Linked DNA regions of Homo sapiens: region 1 is linked to region 2. The links are contacts of gene promoters, found by promoter capture Hi-C in human tissues and cell types (Jung and others, 2019). All regions are on one chromosome and are shown on one strand. The core of a region is centred on a gene start or on the middle of the fragment in contact, and the rest is flanking DNA. Distances in the headings are between cores, read along the strand shown. Region 1 overlaps UBXN2B (UBX domain protein 2B). Region 2 holds the start of CYP7A1 (cytochrome P450 family 7 subfamily A member 1).

Region 1 (5,412 bases), core at 47-2,546, 53 kb after region 2:
CTGCTGACCTTTAGGCTGGGCGTGGTGGCTCATGCCTGTAATCCCAGCACTTTGGGAGGCTGAGGTGGGTGGATCACCTGAGGTTCGGAGTTCGAGACCAGCCTGATCAACACAGAGAAACGCTGTCTCTAGCAAAAGTACAAAAATTAGCCAGGCATGGTGGCGCATGCCTGTAATCCCAGCTACTTGGGAGGCTAAGGCAGGAGAATCTTTTGAACCTGGGAGGCGGAGGTTGCGGTGAGCAGAAATTATGCCATTGCACTCCAGCCTGGGCAACAAGAGCAAAACTCCATATCAAAAAAAAAAAAAAAAAGAATTGCTGACCTTTATGTGTTTCTGTTTAAGTTCACAACAGTCATAATTCTGTAAAATACAAGGCAAAACTGTAGTTTCTGATACTAGTAATATATCTAAATCAGTAAGTAAAAAGGATGTGTAAAATCTTAATAGGAGAAATAATTATTGTATGATCAAACAATTTCAAAATCAAAAGACACGTTTCAGTATATATTATAGACAAATTTTCAACTTATTTGATCAAAAGATTTCTTAATGGCTGTTGGTCAATGCTGCATCAAGAAACTTTAGTGCAAATTTTACCAAATGCATTTATCAAAAAGGGGTTTTGTTCATTTTTCTCTGCAAACAAATGTTGTTACATTAACACTAAGCATGTAACAACTCATTTGCCTAGAAATCCAAAAACTATCAACATAAGCCAGTCCTTCAACTAAAAACTCAAACATACTTATCTCAAGGTCTATTCCTAATCCAAATTTGTCTATATTCAGATTGGAAGACAGAATAACAATAAAACCAAAATTTATCTGTAAAAATAATAAAAATAATTTGGCTGTTTTTAATGCTGAAGTATTGTCCTTATTAATACGGCACATCATCTATTCCCACATGCTACTGCATGGACAGGAACAATATTATTTTAGTTGCTGGAGTAACACAGTGTTAAGAATATCTGCTTCTAGCAGTGTCAGGCTTTCATCTGTTAGCTCTTTATTCGGAAATGAAGTCACAAGAATAAAGTCAAGAGCCGCAAATTCAGGACGAGACTGTACAATAAAGTTCCGGACATCCAGGATCCTGAAGAAATAAGACAAAAATAATTTGTAATATAAAAAATCATATTTTCATGTAAACTTAAAACTGAATCATAATAAAAATCACAAAATTTTAATCTTTATATAAAGGTGTTGTAACTTTCTTTAATATATAGTATTTCAATTGAAGGATTTATCTTAGGCTTCAGTTAAAATGTAAAGTAACTTTAGTGTGTACTTAACATTTACTTTTCCTGTAAAATGGAAACAATCTTCAGGTAAGTTATGAATAAAGTAAGTGTACTAATGTTGTTATTTTAAAAGTGCAGGTCCAGCTGGGCACGGTGGCTTACGCCTGTAATTCCAGCACTTTGGGAGGCAGAGGTGGGCAGATCACTTGAGGCCAGGAGTTCAAGATTAGCCTGGCTAACACGGTGAAAACCCCGTCTCTACTAAAACCAGAAAAAATTAGCTGGGCATGGTGGTGGCTGTCTGTAATCCCAGCTACTCAAGAGGCTGAGCATGAGAATTGCTTGAATCTGGAAGGCGGAGTTTGTAGTGGGCTGAGATTCCGCCACTGCACTCCAGCCTGGGAGACAGAGTAAGACTCTGTCTCAAAAAAAAAAAAAAAAAAAAAAAAAAAAAAAAAAAATGCAGGTTGTACTTTTTTCGGAGTATAAAATGTGTTAGCAGCATATGACCCAGAAAAAGGTAACTATGATTGGCCTGTGGCAAGGTGAGTCTAAAACTATGAAATGTGCTATCATAGGAATAATTTTAAAAAATTACTCTCACATAAACATAGTAATTCAACCAAAATCATAAATATATCTATTAGGGTCTTACTTCAATGGACAAATCAAATGTTGATGTACAAGTCAATATTAAAGAAACATTTAAAACTATCTGAAGTTCTTGACAAAAGTACAATTAAACTTGATTTACAATACACATTTATATTATGAAGTATTTGCTATACAGAAAATTAATCCCAATCAAAATTATCACAAATTTTTAAATGAATAAAGTCCCCAAAAGGTTTTACTATGTTAAATTAAATCTGATTCGACTTCATATAGTTTTAGTAACAACGTAAAACTATAGTTCTTAATTTATTTTTGTGTGATATCTGAGATCACATTAGTATTTGGATAGTTTATAGAGACTGTTTAAATACCACATATTTCATTTCTTAAACACAGCTATTGTCCTTTTAAAAATGTTTCTTCTGTCAAAAACTTACTTCAAAAGTAAACCTAAAGAATATCATATTCTTCATTACTCAAGTCACATACAGTTCTACTTAGATAAGCAATCCAGTGTATATAACAGCAAACAGGACACTGTTGGTAAAGAAGCTTACCTGTGTGTACTATTGAATCTTTGTATCAAACGACTCCCATCTGCTAACCTGATTTGAATTTTTGTTGTTGGCACTGAATCATCAATAAGAACAACTGCATTAAGTATTGATTTATCCTCCTCTTCTGGAGAGGAAGGTGTACTGACTATTTCAGGTGTAAGGCTAAAAAAGAGGAATTAAACACAAATCTGAATGTGTAAAATATATGACAAACTGAAGACAGCGATAAACACTTAGAACATGGCTTCATTTGAGTCTCCTATACTTCTTTCAACCTCTTTCATTATATTAAAGTTATTTTGGATCCTACGATTCTTATTTGGTTTATCTAATCTCTCATAAAAGCCTAACTTTGCATCCTTTCCTCATTTAACTGTTTGCAACTTCATCACTGTTTAGCAAACCAGTTTTATTTAGAAATACGAGCAACTCTGAGTTAGGGTCAAAGAATCATTAAGAGCACAGACAGACATGGTTTCACATCCCAGCCATGTCAACTGTGTAAAGTTGAGTAAGTACATCAATCATTTTGAATCCCAGTTCTATCATTTATAAAGTGAGGGAATAATACTATGTTATGAAGGTATATTATACCAGTAAGTCCTTAATATTGTGCCTAGAACACAGTGTTTCAACGGGTGCCAGCTATTGTGAACATATTATCAGCACTAAATTCATTTAATTTGGACTTGGTTAATATCATTTAAACACATCTGATTCAAGCACTGCTTTGCAAAAGAGAAATAACTTCTAAGTACCATTGAGGAATAAAATGTTATTACATGACAATAAATTCATAATGAAGCTTGATAGAATATCTTACCATTAGAACTTGGTTACTAGTGACCCTGGCATTGCTGTCTTAGCCCCTTCTAACACTAGCAGGATGATCAGCCAGTATATGCCAAAAGTGAATGTCAAAAATAGAGGAGTGCTCTTTTGGTTAAATAATTCAAATAAATTTAGCTCAATTTTCTCAGTCATCTTAAGGAATTTTTGATAGTCTTGAAGTTTTTTCTCTTGAACTCTGAGATTTAGATGGTTTCCTATAGATTATTTTCTTCTGGAAGAAAGACACGCATGTATCTACATATTACTAGTATAAAAGTTCTATGAGCATTTGGGCTTTAGTCCAATCTAAATCATCATGACTCTTACTTCCATTCAAAAAGCTTCTCTCTCAGAGTACACAGTAAAGTGATAAAATTACCTGGTACTAACTGCTGACACTTTCTCTTTCTTTAGCTATTTCCTGATGCTAATTTTAGAACTGATTTGAGGATACATAAAAATATACATAAGGTTAAAATTATGACTTACAATAAATGATCAGATATTAAGGAATTTCTTTTTAATTTGGAATTGAGGGCCTAAGTAATTGCACTGCCAATCTGGTTTACTGTGCCAAGAGTCCAGCGTTCCTTACACAAGGGAGGGGGATGAAAATCCAAGAGAAAAGACATGAGACACTGAATGCAAAGGTCCTCTTTACCTCCGCCTCACTGATAACCAGGTATACACATTATCATCGTCACTACCACCATTACCACCTCTGCCACATGCATTATTTCATTTACATCAGCCTGGGAAGCAGTGTTAACAGCATGGTTCTCAGAGCTGGATTACCTGGTTTCAATCCCAACTCTGCACTTATTCTGTAACACCAGGCAAGTCACTTACCCTTATTGTGCCTGAGAGCCAACAGCAGCAGTGCTGTAAAGATTAAATTAATTAGGACACATAAGCACTTCAAATGGTGCTTTTATATAGTTGGCACTACTAAAAGTTGGCTATTAGCATTATAATTATCCTAACAACAACTCTGGAAAAAAAAAGTTACCCCCAATATTCCTATTGGTAAGTGAGAGAGCTGAGGTTTATATTGGGCTCTTTCTACACACCAAGTTGCCTCCCTATTATTTTTGTAATCTACTGCTTTCTGTTTTAAGGCAGATTCTGACCAGGTATGCTTTTTCTCAAAACAGAAAATGGAGGATGGGGAAGCTAGGTAAGAAAATGTGTGTATGTCACAATGAAACTATTGTATATGGAATAATAACATTTGAGAACTGGAATGGATGGACTTCCAACATAATTTAGGCCAACCATATCATTTTATCTAAAAGAAACCGAGTCACAGAGAGACTAAAAGACATGCTCAGAACCACACAGACAGATAGCTGGACAAGCTGGTAGTGTGGTATTAAAAAACCAGCCTAAAAAGTTATGTTAATTAATTTATTTTATTTATTTATTTTTCTGGGATGCAGTGTTGCTCTGTTGCCCAGGCTGGAGTGCAGTGGTGTGATCTCAGCTCACTGCAACCTCTGCCTCCTGAGTTCAAGTGATTCTCCTGCCTCAGCCTCCCAAGTAGCTGGGATTACAGGTGCCTGTCACCACATGCGGCTAATTTTTTTTTTTTTTTTTTTTGGATTTTTAGTAGAGATGGGGTTTCGCCATGTTGGCCAGGCTGGTCTTGAATTCCTAATCTCAAGTCATCTGCCTGCCTCGGCCTCCCAAAGTGCTGGGATTACAGGTGTGAGCCACTGTGCCCATGCAAGTTATGTTAATTCTAATATTTAGCTGTCAAAATCACATCTGTTTGCTATTTAAAACTTTCTCCCTATCATTCAATTGATCAAGCCATAGTAAAACTTTTACATTAAAAAGAAAATTTTTTAAGAAAGAAAAGAGAAATTAATTGGTACAACAAGGTTTGTAGGCAAATGGCAGGAAAGGATGTAGGTTGTAATTCCCTCAGAGACAGGAGAAACACCCTCTTCTTCAAACTTATGGAGGGAGAGGAGGATGGAAATGACCAGCTTGAAGGCTGGAGGGAAACATAATAAGAATGTGAATTCCCGTCAGGTTCTATTTTCTCAATGAAGCTGGAAGCAAAGAAATTTGCTGAGAGTGAGGGGCAGGGGTCGAGGAGGGGGTTTAGGAAAGCAGCTCAGGCCTGTGAGACTGGCGAGGCACAGCACTGCCTGCTCA
Region 2 (5,577 bases), core at 1,346-3,845:
ACACCCAAGTTGCTTCTTGAATGCTTTGCTGCTTAGAAATTTCTTCTGCCAGATACCCTAAATCATCTCTCTTAGGTTCCAAGTTCCACAAATCTCTAGGGCAGGGACAAAACGCTGCCAGTCTCTTTACTAAAACATAACAAGAGTCACCCTTGCTCTAGTTCCCAAAAAGTTCCTCATCTCCATCTGAAACCACCCCCGCCTAGATTTCGTTGTCCATATCATTATCAGCATTTTGGTCAAAGTCATTCAACAGGCCTCTAGGGAGTTCCAAACTTGCTCACATTCTCCTGTCTTCTTCTGAGCCCTCCAAACTGTTCCAATCCCTACCTGTTACCCAGTTCCAAAGTCGCTTCCACATTTTTGGTTATCTTTTCAGCCGTGCCCCACTCTACTGGTACCAGTTTACTGTATTAGTCGATTTTCATGCTGCTGATAAAGACATACCTGAAACTGGACAATTTACAAAAGAAAGAGGTTTATTGGACTTACAATTCTACATCACTTGGGAGGCCTCACAATCATGATGGAAGGAGAAAGGCACATCTCACATGGCAGCAGACAAGAAAAGAGCTTGTGCAGGGAAACTCCTCTTTTTAAAACCATCAGATCTCATGAAATTTATTCATTATCATGACAATAGCACAGGAAAGAACTGCACCCATAATTCAGTCACCTCCTACCAGGTTCCTCCCACAACACGTGAGAATTCAAGATGAGATTTGGATGGGGACACAGCCAAACCATGTCACACTACCATGCCTGACTTCCTTTCCATTTTTGTATATTTGCTTGTTCTTCATTTGCCCGAGAAGTAACTCTAAAGGGCTGTATTATTTGGATATTAGATTGGCATTTTATCTGACTGGGATATCTTGCTGTGATTGTCCATGTATAAGATCAGCTTTTCTATAAGCCATATTTTTAAAAAGATATATTAATTTTTTAAAAATCCACCTGTCTAAATAAATGCACAAAGCCCCCCAAAAACCTAGATTCTAAGAAAAATCTATGTACTGCCATACAATGATTGATATTAATATTTATGGTGATAAATTACACACAAAAAATGTGTGATCTCTGTTTAAACAGGCAAAAACAAAAAACACATGAAATAAATCTATGGCATCTATAGCCAAAACTGGAAACAACCCACATATCCATCAATAGGAAATCAGTTAAATAAATTATAGTACATTTATCCAATGGAAGATTAAGCACATATTCAATATAATTATTTATACACACATATAGATACACACATGTATAAATATAGAGAATACTGTGGGTGTATGTGTGTGTGTGTTTATATACATATATATACACACACAGTACTGTTGCCTACCTTCTTTTGTCTTAATTCTGTGAACTCTCATTCACTCTGCTTCAGTAGGATACATCCTTCTTTTTGGTTCTTAGACTCACCAAGTTGATCCTTGACTCAAGACATTGCATTTGCTGCTTCCTCTTCCTGGAATATCCTTCCTTCTGATATTCACATGAGTAGTCTCTTCTTGTCATTCAGATCTCAAATGTCACAATTTCAGAGAGCCCATCTCTGATCATCATATCTAAAGTTGTCCTCATTCCCCCATAGCTTTCTATACCATGTTTTATTTTTTTCATAACATGTATTTTATTACTCCTTTCTCCATTGGAATAGAATCTCCATTAGATTAGGAAATCTGCCTATCTTATTAATGCCTGCAACTGGAATACTTTTGAAGAGTTCTTGGCACGTAATAAATACTCAACTAATATTTTTGTGTACACAGAAATAAAGTTTGGAAGAACAGATGCCAAATTGTTACTAGTGGTTACTTCTGAGTAAAGGAGTAGCATGGTAGGTAAATTATTAATAGATGTTCACTTTCCACCAAGATATGTTTTAGTTAGTCTTAACTTACTTGAAATGAAATTTATTACTTTAATAATTAGAAACATTGATAAACATTTTAGTCACAAGAATGATAGATAAAATTTTGATGCTTCCAATAAGTTATATTTATCTAGAGGATGCACTTATGTAGAATACTCTCTTGAGGATGTTAGGTGAGTAACATGTTACTATATGTAGTAAAATATCTATGATTTTATAAAAGCACTGAAACATGAAGCAGCAGAAATGTTTTTCCCAGTTCTCTTTCCTCTGAACTTGATCACCGTCTCTCTGGCAAAGCACCTAAATTAATTCTTCTTTAAAAGTTAACAAGACCAAATTATAAGCTTGATGAATAACTCATTCTTATCTTTCTTTAAATGATTATAGTTTATGTATTTATTAGCTATGCCCATCTTAAACAGGTTTATTTGTTCTTTTTACACATACCAAACTCTTAATATTAGCTGTTGTCCCCAGGTCCGAATGTTAAGTCAACATATATTTGAGAGACCTTCAACTTATCAAGTATTGCAGGTCTCTGATTGCTTTGGAACCACTTCTGATACCTGTGGACTTAGTTCAAGGCCAGTTACTACCACTTTTTTTTTTCTAATAGAATGAACAAATGGCTAATTGTTTGCTTTGTCAACCAAGCTCAAGTTAATGGATCTGGATACTATGTATATAAAAAGCCTAGCTTGAGTCTCTTTTCAGTGGCATCCTTCCCTTTCTAATCAGAGATTTTCTTCCTCAGAGATTTTGGCCTAGATTTGCAAAATGATGACCACATCTTTGATTTGGGGGATTGCTATAGCAGCATGCTGTTGTCTATGGCTTATTCTTGGAATTAGGAGAAGGTAAGTAATGTTTTATCTTTAAATTGCTCTTTGATTCATCCATTTAATTTTTTTACCTTCATTTTTATACAGTAAATTTGGTTTTCTATACTTACACATATTAGCATTATCTTCCTTATTTTTTAAATGAAAAATTTGATTTGAATTTTTAAAGTAATATCTTTTTTACTATATCTCACAAGACATATGACAGCTTCCCTTTTTAGTATTGGCATATACCGATGGTAATATATAAATGTATATTGGTGTTAAACATAACTGACAGAAATTGTATAAGGTCTCTATGTACATTTATATGTGTATCTAAAGAGGAAGCCCAGATTAGTAAGGATACAAGTAGCAAGTGGGAATCTACAATGGAAAGGATTGCTTTCTCTCACATGGCTTCAATAGATACTCTTGTTAAATAAATGTTCTCTTTTAAGCTCATTCTTGTGCATCGCATAGACTCAGCCTAAGCCTGAACAAGAGCATAGAGCCTGAGCTGATCATTCTATTACTGTTTTTAAATAAATGTTAATCAACTGTGGTGAATTGGGAAAGTTTGCTGAGTGTATGTGACATCGATTTCATTTATTTACAACTGGTTCAAGAATGCAAGAAAAACAAATACAGTCAGATCCAGAACCATAGTTTATTTAACTTCTAATTGGCTCAAGGAGTAATTGTGGGGAGGCATATAGATATTCTCTGCTATGTCAATCTCAAAAAGAGAAAATAACCCTAACCATCTTTCAGCTTTGTAGATTGCTATGTGTTTTCTGCCTTTTGCAGTTTCTTTCAGGCCTGATAGTTTTTACTTTTAATTAAACTACTTATCTTCAAACTAAGAAAAGAAAGGTAATTACTTTATACTGTATTATTCTATCAAGAGGTACAGAAGTTTATGTTGGAAAATAAGTTTACATGTTCTAATAAAAACATTTTAAAGGAGCACTGAATTACAATAGATGATTCCGTCAGTGTTTATCTTACTCAATTTCATTTTATAATAAGCTGATTTCTCACATGAGATTCTTCTTCTCTGAAACCATCCTTATAGAATATAATATAGATATCTTTAAACTAGGAATATTTTCAAAACCTCAGTTCTGAAATCCTCCCTTATTCAGTGATCTGTGTCTTTAAAGAAAATAATCAAAAGAAACATTTTGAGATATTTAGAAAAATGATGCTTAGCAAAGTGATAAACACTAGAATGTAGTTTTGTTTCCGCACTGACAACAAGAATCTTGTTGGTCTTGTAAATCCTTTTGCCTGTATCACTGGGAAAAGTGATGAGCACATAGTAGACGGGTGCTTGTTGAATGTGTATATGGACGGATGCATGAATGGATGGATTTAGTAATCCTTTCCACCAACATATCATGTTACTAGGTTAATATAACCTATTACTGTAGTAAAAGAGCAGGGCCCATCCAACAAAAGAAATATCTATAAACTATAGGGTTTCAAAGTTTGAAGTCAGTGGGAAAAATTTTAAAACCTGATGTAAGTAAAAACCCAAAACTGTAATCATCCATGTCTATCATACACTTGTGTCTGACAGGCAAACGGGTGAACCACCTCTAGAGAATGGATTAATTCCATACCTGGGCTGTGCTCTGCAATTTGGTGCCAATCCTCTTGAGTTCCTCAGAGCAAATCAAAGGAAACATGGTCATGTTTTTACCTGCAAACTAATGGGAAAATATGTCCATTTCATCACAAATCCCTTGTCATACCATAAGGTGTTGTGCCACGGAAAATATTTTGATTGGAAAAAATTTCACTTTGCTACTTCTGCGAAGGTAAGCAGTTTTACATTTATATACCATTCTGTTTGTCTTCTACCTTTTTATGTGCTTGTCTATTTAGAAATTTTGATGTACTTAGATTTTATGATAAAGGTGTTGAAGAGAGTTATCCTTATGTGGAGATTCTTAGAAACATAAATAAATTATACGTAGCTTCTTAGTAATAATCATTTAGAAAGTCAAAATAGGTATAGATTTGTCATTTGTTGACGAGCTAATGAGGGTGAAATACAGATTAAATGCTCTACTGAGACAGGTGGCACTGTACGAATAAGATAGATAAAAATTCATCACATCAGCAATGTCTATGCAAGAATGCAAGTGACGGAAACCTAACATTCAGCAGTTGTCTCACCACACTTGTGCCACACAGTGTTTCATTTTGATAAGGAATTGGCAAGATATTTTAACATCATTTAGATGTAATAAAAGAAGATCTGTTACTGAGAAAAAAAACCAATAACTACTTACTTACTGCAAATAAATATTAGCTTTGGTCTTTGTGACTAAGTAGCTTAAAGTTTGGTTAAAATACATCTACAGCTGGACACAATGGAACACACCTGTAGTCCCTGCTATTTGAGAGGCTGAGGCAGGAGGATCGCTTGAGTCCAGGAGTTTGAGGCTGCAGTGAGCTATCATTGTGTCACTGCACTCCAGCCTGGGTGACAATGTGAGACCCCATCTCTAAAAGAAAAAGAAAAAGAAATCTACAAATAATATAAAAGATAACTAATGATTTTAAAACATTATCAATTAGTTTATGTGCAATAGCTGTAAATAAGTGCAGTAGCATAAGAAATAAGACATAGATGACTTGAGTGATCCAGGGGAGTGCCACTGAAGTTGGCTTTAAAGGAAAGGTACAGTTTGGTCATTTATTTGTAAAGTGCTATGAACTTGTACAAGGGAAAGCCAATTTCCCGTGTTTACCAAGTAAGGAACTATGAAAGTATCTAATCCGTTTTTCAGTCATTTACTATGACTAGGTCAGGTTTAACTTCTTTTTCTGCATGTTTTATTTGCTATCAGGCATTTGGGC

The links. The method cuts DNA at HindIII sites, captures the fragments that hold promoters and counts their contacts. A contact is called where the count stands out against the background at its distance.
Region 1: a fragment that was not itself captured here is called in contact with the fragment with the promoter of CYP7A1 in region 2 in 1 of the 25 tissues and cell types used here (dorsolateral prefrontal cortex).

The regions. Positions count from the first base shown.
Region 1 is chr8:58,443,075-58,448,486 of GRCh38, reverse strand. It overlaps UBXN2B (UBX domain protein 2B), which reads right to left. Exons shown (of 8, transcript NM_001077619.2): 7 at 2,419-2,580; 8 at 1-1,098. The coding sequence ends at 936. Among named protein-coding and RNA genes, the nearest start is that of UBXN2B, 34 kb to the right of the region's middle. The HindIII fragment of the contact is 4,222 bases long and covers 1-3,407 here.
Region 2 is chr8:58,497,181-58,502,757 of GRCh38, reverse strand. CYP7A1 (cytochrome P450 family 7 subfamily A member 1) reads left to right here and starts at 2,595. Exons shown (of 6, transcript NM_000780.4): 1 at 2,595-2,739; 2 at 4,289-4,529; 3 at 5,568-5,577. The coding sequence starts at 2,660. RefSeq lists an enhancer at 2,164-2,385, a promoter at 717-2,619 and a silencer at 2,717-4,303. The HindIII fragment of the contact is 11,138 bases long and covers 1-5,577 here.